Regions from separate parts of the Homo sapiens genome. Here region 2 is linked to region 1. Evidence: promoter capture Hi-C in human tissues and cell types (Jung and others, 2019). All regions are on one chromosome and are shown on one strand. The core of a region is centred on a gene start or on the middle of the fragment in contact, and the rest is flanking DNA. Distances in the headings are between cores, read along the strand shown. Region 1 holds the start of FKBP15 (FKBP prolyl isomerase family member 15). Region 2 has its middle 5.4 kb from the start of ZNF483.

Evidence for each region. Contacts are between HindIII fragments. The study calls those that stand out against the background at their distance.
Region 2: a fragment that was not itself captured here is called in contact with the fragment with the promoter of FKBP15 in region 1 in 1 of the 25 tissues and cell types used here (aorta).

The regions. Positions count from the first base shown.
Region 1 is chr9:113,218,266-113,222,560 of GRCh38, reverse strand. FKBP15 (FKBP prolyl isomerase family member 15) reads left to right here and starts at 1,284. Exons shown (of 28, transcript NM_015258.2): 1 at 1,284-1,370. The coding sequence starts at 1,318. SLC31A1 (solute carrier family 31 member 1) reads right to left here and starts at 1,017. Exons shown (of 5, transcript NM_001859.4): 1 at 883-1,017. RefSeq lists enhancers at 106-295, 1,136-1,245, 1,356-1,485. The HindIII fragment of the contact is 7,733 bases long and covers 1-3,983 here.
Region 2 is chr9:111,517,764-111,521,783 of GRCh38, reverse strand. No RefSeq gene overlaps it. Among named protein-coding and RNA genes, the nearest start is that of ZNF483, 5.4 kb to the left of the region's middle. The HindIII fragment of the contact is 5,739 bases long and covers 1-4,020 here.

The DNA.
Region 1 (4,295 bases), core at 35-2,534:
GGGGAAGCCCAAGAACTCCAGTGAGTCTGTGGACGCTACGCTGGGACACTATCTCCTTAGCCACACCTTGTCTAAGCCAGGACTACCCCAGGATTGTTTCGAGAATGATACCAGGTTAACCAAAGAAATACTTATGTAAGATACAGATAGGGTGGAAACTGGAGGCAGAGGAGTCCGCCACAATTGATGTTGATTTAGGGCTGTCGCAGGAAGACCCAGGGAAACCCACGCCAAAGTTGGGGTGGGGATGTGTCTGCCTCCAAAGTATCCTCCTTTCCATCACCCACCGCCAGAATATCTTAGCTCTTCTGCACCTCATCCGCGTAGAATACAGGTGGACTCTAGAAAGGGGACTTTCCTCGAGGTGTATGCTACAGTCTTTCAATAGTCACTCTGTAAGGGCACACAGTGCTTAAGGGCTGATAAGGTTCTTGTTCACCCACTAGCTCACTATGTCCTGAATCAAAGGACGAGGAATCCAGTCTCAGTCTGCCCTTTACTCTTTGTGACCTCGGACTAGTCACCCGGGTGCTTAGTTCCTTCGTCTCCCTATCTGTAAATTCTGAGATTACGAGGAGGCCGGGATTGAAATCCATGGCCTCTGAGCTCTAAAATCTTCTGGACCAGCAGGCACATGGAAGAACTGGACAAATGGCCGGTTGCATACACGGGGAAACTGAGGCACCGAGCACCCCGGCCCAAGGTCACTCTGGCTATGCCACTGCAGGGGCCGGGCCGAAGCCCCAGTCTTTAACCCTCCAGTCCCGAGCTCTTTCTCCTTCCGCGGAGCTGAGGAAAGCGGCGAGGAAGGTCCTTGTCCCGCTGGGAAAAGGACGGTACCCATGCACAGGGGTGCGAAAGAGGGGCCGAGAGAAGCCTTACCTTTCCAGGTCAAGTCCAGCCACTAGCACCTCTCTCTCCGAATCTTAACCCGTCACCCCCTCACGACTCTTCGAACGGCCCCTCCACTTCTACCCGGCTCGACGTGTCCACCACCGCCACCGAGGCCGAGGATTTCCCGCCCCCTCCCGCCCCCTAGCATTACCGACCAATCCCTGCAAGGGGCTGTGAAGCTCCGCCCCGCTGCGGGCTGGAGAGGCCTGACGTCACTCGGCGCTCGTGCCCGCGCGAGCCTCTCATTTGCCTTTGCCCCACCTTCTCCAGAGCCCAGTCTACTTTCGGTCCAGAGACCGTGCTGGAGTTCGCCCTGCCGGAAAGCAGCACGCCGCCGCGGCATTTTACGACGTCGGCGGTGACAGGCCCTGGGACTCTGGGAATACCCAGCTTCCTCCCCGCAACCCGGTGAAAGCCAACGCAATGTTCGGTGCGGGGGACGAGGACGACACCGATTTCCTCTCGCCGAGCGGCGGGTGAGTGACTGAGAAGTATGCGCTGGAGGGCGTGGCTGAGAGATACCGGCGGATTGTTGGAGGGGGGTCGATCTCTTCTCAGGCCTTTTCCCAACTTCCGGGGGGAGACCCTTGCCACATTCCGGTGCTCTACACCTCTCAGAATCTGGGCAGAACTTGCAACTGTGCTGACCCTGCCGATCTGAGGTTCGGGACCCGGCATCTCTCTTGGCGGGAAGATAGCCCTGGGTTTGCCTTTTGCATTCTGGGTCACAATTTCTCCGGTGAAATGGGAATGATTGCTGATGAGACTTCCTGCCTCAGAATTTTTATAGGAGTCAGCTGGGGCTGATGTGAGACTTCTTTTCTCCATGGAGAAGGCGAAGACACTTTAGAACCAGGCCTTGGTGGGTCAGCTCTAGCATTCTTCAAGGCCCAGCTCGGATGTCACGTTTTGGATGCTTTTCCTTCTGCAACCTCAGGCAGAATGAATTGCTTTCTCTTCCTTATTCCTGCAGCTAGGTGTGTTTGCCTCTATTCTTATACCCCGCACCTATTAGATTATGAGTCCTCACCGGACAGGGACTGCTTATGGTGTTCATTTCTGTCTAGCATGCAGCATGGTACCTAGCACATAGTGAGTGCTCAGGAAGTGGCTGTTGAATGAATAATAGCTGCGAAATTGCACTTTGTAAAGCTTAAAGCTTAAAACCAACGTAACAGACTTCTGTCATTCTCCAGTTTCCCCAAGCATTATATTAATATATACCAGCCTGGAATAGAAATCTTTAAAGAGAGGAAGGGTTTTGTCTCTTTTAGTAGTCAGTTTAGCCTTTTCCATTGTGTTGTGCCAGTGGACAGCTTGACTTCCTCCAAACTTGTGAGCTACCAAGCTCTGATCATTGCAGAGCTTTTCTTTGAACATATGCTTAACAAATTTTGTGCGTGCTGAAGAATGTACTGGAAAAATGACAAATGCACCACATATGCCCCTTATTCTGCTAAATGCTAAGAGGTTACAAAAATGATTAAACTGCTGTGCCTGCCCTTAAGTTGCTTCCAGATCTGTTGGGCCATGTGGTTTCTATTGCAACCACAAATACTCAGTTCTGCCTTGTAGGGTGAGAGTAGTCATAGACAATACATAAACAAATGAGTTAATAGATGAATGACCATAAAATGACACTGGCCTTCTTTTGTCCTTAAGTAGGAATTTTTGATTTACACTGACTAGCTCTATATTACCTACCTTTTAGTCTTTTTCACTCTCACCACTCTGTTCCCTTCCTACCCCGTCTTTAGATGGCCTGCATTCACTTAGTTCCACTTTGAGTTCTTTCCGTTTCTCAGTTATTTTACAGTTAAGCTGTGCTTTTGTTCCTTTTTTCCCTATTCCACTTTAAATTCGCATTCTTCACTATGTGAAAGTATTTGGGAGAAGTCTGTAATGTTAGGGCTCCCAATTTTCATGCAACAATCAGTCCAAGCTGACTGAAAATTATGGGATAGGTAATGACAGCCATGTGCTCTTTTCCAGATTCCTGGCCAGAGATAAATTCTTGGTGGCTCAACTATTCTTTTTTCCTGAGCAGGCTTCTCAAGGATCTGAGACACTTGAATTCTAGGCATGTGACTGTGCTCCTAGACATAGACAACAGCTAATTTGATGGTAAAAGACATACTGAGGAAAGTTATAGTTTATTTTTGTTCCCCACAGTTATCAGGAAAACCAAATCAAATTTAACACTGAGAATACAGAAAGTTTCACCACAATTCTCTGATTTAGCTATTCCTTTTTTGGTTTTCTCTAAGGAAGTAGAACATATGACAGTGAATACTGCAGCTACTTTTCACTTCCTCTTTTATAGCCATATATTACTGTAAGTATACTTGCTTAAGTTCCAAGTCTCTTGATTTAAACACATGATTTGCTTGATTTCATGAAGGATATTCAAGCCTAATAGAAGTAGGAGTATCTGATAATCTGCCTTCTGAGTTTCTAGGCCTCTTAGAGTTTACTATTAATCTAGAAGTAGTAATCAGGAGCCTTGTTTTTGTTTGTTAGTTTGTTTTAGCCCATTCCTCACCGTTGTGGGAAGTAATAGTAATGAACTAATAGTACTTGGCTTCAGCTAATCCAGATAGGAATAAGGCACAGTTTCTGCCCCTAAGAAACTTTTATTTTAGTAGTAGAATAAAATCAATCCAGGAATAATAATCACAAAGCATTTTTAAGGGGCCAATTATGTATATATTTGTTTTAGATTATAAAGGTATGTGTAGGCAGATCCGATTAGCATAGTAATGATAAATCACCAGTCTAAAGATGGTAGAAAGATAAATTAACCGATCATCAGAAAGCATTTTGAGTTCTGTAAAAGATAGGAAAAAGCCTAGATTCAAATGTTGATTCTATCCCCAGTTAGGAATGTGACTTTGGACAGATTATCTTCCATCCTTGTCCCTCCATACCCCAACCTATTCAATAATGAGGTTTGACCTAGATAAACTTTGAGACCTTTGCCAGTTCTGTAGTTTTAATGTTAATGCTAATACCAGTTTATGGTTGCAGGTCAACTTCCGTGTCAATCAAGCATGCTTTCACCCTTGCAGGGGTATCTGAGTTGAACCACATTTTGAGATAATAGGATGTGTTCACAAGTATATAAATACGTACTCTGTGCTTACTTAATGCCATACACTGTTCTAAGAAATACATAGACATTATTGTATTTATTCCTCCCTTCTACTCTATGAAATAATTTTACCTACTATGCCCATTTTACAAATGAGAAATGTATATATATATATATATATATATATATATATATATAATTGTATTTACTCCTCTCTATGAGGTACTATTAATTATTATATCCGTTTTACAAATGGGAAAGGCTCAGAGAGGTAAATTGCCCAAGATCATGCAGCTAGAAAGTAATAGAG
Region 2 (4,020 bases), core at 1,307-3,806, 1.7 Mb after region 1:
GCTGGTCTTGAACTTCTGACCTCGTGATCCACCCGCCTCGGCCTCCCAAAGTACTGGGATTACAGGCGTAAGCCACTGCGCCCGGCTTCCCTGTCTTCTTTCTAGACTCACTCCACTTTAAAGAAACTGAAGACCCAAGGTCCTGCCCACCCCTCCCCATATCCTATTTTTTCAAAAATGAGACCCAGCGCAGGGAGGGGCTTGCCCAAGGTCACTCAACTGGTAGATTGGAAACTGACTGGCTCTGAGCCCAAGGCTTTTAGGAGAAAGGAGCACATCTTCCCCATCTCTAGAGGGAGGAGGACAGGCTGGGACTCTGATCAAGGATCTAAAACAGGTGTTTTAAAACTAGTTGTTAATTGCCAAACTGTCCAAAAGAAATATTACAGATGAAAGAGGTGCATTCCTGATTGAAGTCCTGGCTTCCCCACCTAGCAGCTTTGGAGTTATCTCCTTAAGACCCTCAGGGCTCTTGTGCATCCACTTTGGAGGCCTCTGAGCTCTAAAGGTTTGAGCTGCCTCAAGGACACCAAGTCCTTGTTTCCAGGTGCCTCCAGTCCTGGTTTAACTGGGACTCCAAAGATCCCAGAGCCACTCTAGGGGAGCTGACCCTCTCCTGAAAAGAAATAACAAAAAATTCCTCCTGCCTGGCTCTGTAGAGCCACAGAGGGTGGTATGTTCCAGAAAGAAAGAAAGAAAGAAAAAGAAATAGCAAGCAAGTGAGCTACGAAGCTCCCGTAAGGATCCACTAGAGAGAAAGGGGATGAAGACAGAGAGTGTGGGAATATGCTGTAGAGTGAAGACTGAGAAACTAGGGGGAAGCACAAGTGGAGAAATTAGCTTTAAACTGCCAGAGCCAGCATGCAGTGTTCATTGTAATAGCAGGGAAGGAGGCAAAGAAGGGGGTAGATGCAGTTGGATTTGGAACTGGTATCTAATGGATCCTGCTGAGATCCACTATTGGGACCTCCCCAGAAGGGAGATACGGGTGGGATCTGAAGCTTGATAAGAGTAGATTAGGTTTGGCCGGGCGTGCTGGCTCACACCTGTAATCCCAGCACTTTGGGAGGCCAAGGCAGGCAGATCACGAGGTCAGGAGTTCGAGACCAGCCTGGCCAACATAGTGAAACCCTGTCTCTACTAAAAATACAAAAAAAAAATTAGCCGGGCATAGTGGTACGCGCCTGTAGTCCCAGCTACTTGGGAGGCTGAGGCAGGAGAATCACTTGAACCTGGGAGGTGGAGGTTACAGTGAGCTGAAACCACGCCATTGCACTCCAGCCTGGGTGACAGAGCCGAGACTCCATCTCAAAAAAAAAAAAGAGTAGATGGCTGCTGGGAGAATATGAGTTGATCACAAAAACACAGAAGGATTTCCCTGCAGTGTTAAGGGCCCATTTGAGGTTAGAAACCCCCATTTTATGTTACATCAATATGTACATTAAATGATTTTTCTCAAGGTACACAACATAGCTCCAGAATAGGTACAGGGAAGAGGGACAGTTGAATTGATCCAGGGGATGGGGGTTGTAGCATAAGTTTGACAGGAGGACAGTGGGATAACCAGTTGAGGATATGAGCAAAAGTTTGTTTAAAATGATTTATGATGGAGTCCAATTTAGGTAAGGAAGATGAAGATAAGAGTTAGTTAACATAAAAGAAGAAAAGAGAGCTGGGCATGGCGGCATGCGCCTATAGTCCCAGCTTCTCAGGAGGCTGATGCAGGAGGATTGCCAGAGGCCAGGAGTTCGACACCAGCCTGGGCAACATAGTGAGACTCTGTCTCTTAAAAAAAGAAAGAATGAGCCAGGTGTGGTGGCTCACGCCTGTAATCTCAACACTTTGAGAGGCCGAGGTGGGTGGATCACTTGAGCCAGGAGTTTGAGACCAGCCTGGGCAACATAGCAAGACCCATCTCTATAAAAAATTTTAAAAATAGCCGGGCATGGTGGTGCATGACTGTGGTTCCATATACTCAGGAGGCTGAGGAAGGAGGATCTCTTGAGCCCAGGAAGTTGAGACTGCAGTGAGCTCTGATTGTGCCACTGCACTCCAGCCTGGATGACAGAGTGAGACCCTGTCTCTAAAACAAAAAAAGAAAAAAAAGAATGAACGAATGAAAAAGAAGAAAGTAGAGAGATTAAAGGACAAGCGAAATCAAAGCATCAAAGCTTAATAAATAACGTACTTATGGCCGGGTGCTGTGGCTCACACCTGTAATCCTAGCACTTTGGGAGGCTGAGGCAAGTGGATCACCTGAAGTCAGGAGTTCAAGACCAGCCTGGCCAACATGGCGAAACCCCATCTCTACTAAAAGTACAAAAAATTAGCCAGGTGTGGTGGCAGGCACCTGTAATCCCAGCTACTTGGGAGGCTGAGGCAGGAGAATCGCTTGAACCCGGGAGGCGGAGGTTGCAGTGAGCCGAGATCACCCCATTGCACTCCAGCCTGGGTGACAGAGCAAGACTCTGTCTCAAAATAATAATAATAATAATGATAATAATAATGTACTTATAAAGTTAAATATATACTTACTATATGACCCGGCAATCCCACTTCTAGGTATTTACTCATGAAAAATGAAATCATGTCCACAAAAATATCTGTCTGGAAATGCTTATGTATGTTTTATTAACACTTGCCAAAAACTGCAAATAACTCAAATGTGTAGCAACTAGTGAACAGATAAATAAATTGTCTTACATTCATACAATGAAATACTACTCAGCAACAGAAAGGAATGAACTACTGATGAGGGAGCAGGGACCCCTCTTATGGGCCTGCAGGCCCCCCTCACACATGAAAATAAAGGAAAATCTTGAGTTCCTTCAAGGGAAATTCCAGGCACTTAGCTAGCCCTGAGAAGTAAGTGAACCACTTGATAAGCAAGAAGGGGGTAATAGTAGCGTAAAACAATAGCCAAGGAAGTTAGAATCACAAGATATTTGGTTCCCTATAGAAACTAAAGATAACATCATAACATATGTTCCTGAGTTGTTTTTCAGAAACTCAGACCCCCACCAAACAGATCTGCTGTCTTGTAGAATTCAGATAAGCGGGAACTGAGGACTAAATTCTGACTGCTCTTCTTTGTTCTAAATTTCTTCCTGAGAGGCATAAAGGAAGTCATACCCATGGGCCAGAGCTAACATTCTTTTCTGCTGATCCCAAATTTTTAGACTTTAGAAAAAAAAATTTTTTTTTTTTTGAGGCGGAGTTTTGCTTTTATTGCCCAGGCTGGAGTGCAATGGCGCGATCTCAGCTCACCACAACCTCCGCCTCCTGGGTTCAAGCGATTCTCCTGCCTCAGCCTCCCAAGTAGCTAGGATTACAGGCATGCGCCACCGCACCAAGCTAATTTTGTATTTTTAGTAGAGACGGGGTTTCTCCATGTTGGTCAGGCTGGTCTTGAACTCCTGACCTCAGGTGATCCATCCTGCCTTGGCCTCCCGACGTGCTGGGATTTCAGGCGTGAGCCACTGCGTCTAGCCACTTTAAAACAAAATTAAAGCTTTACCTCCTTAACCAATCAGAAATCAGAAAACCTTTGAATCCACCTATGACTTCTGGGCTTCTGTTTTGAGAGGTCTAGCCTTTTTAAGTCAACTCAATGTGTAGCCTCCATATATTGATTTATGATAGTGCCTGTAACTTCTGCTCCCTGCCTTTAAAAACTCTTACATATAAGCCATCCAAGGGGTTGGGTCTTAAGCATGAGCTGCTCAGTTCTCCTTGCTTGGTGCCCTGGAGATAAACACCCTCCTTTCTCCAGCTACAAACCTCAGTGTGGATGTTTGGCCTTACTTGCTGGGCAAGCAGACCCAGTTTGATTTGGTAACAGATACATGCAATGATGTGGCTGAATCTCAAAAGCAGTATGCTAGGTGAGAGATGCGAGATGCAAGAAGGTAGACCCTGTATAATTCCATTTATGACATTCTAAAAAAAACAGAATTATAGGGACAGAAATCAGATAAGTGGTTGCCAGGGGATGGGAGTGTAGAGAAGTGCCCAAGGGAA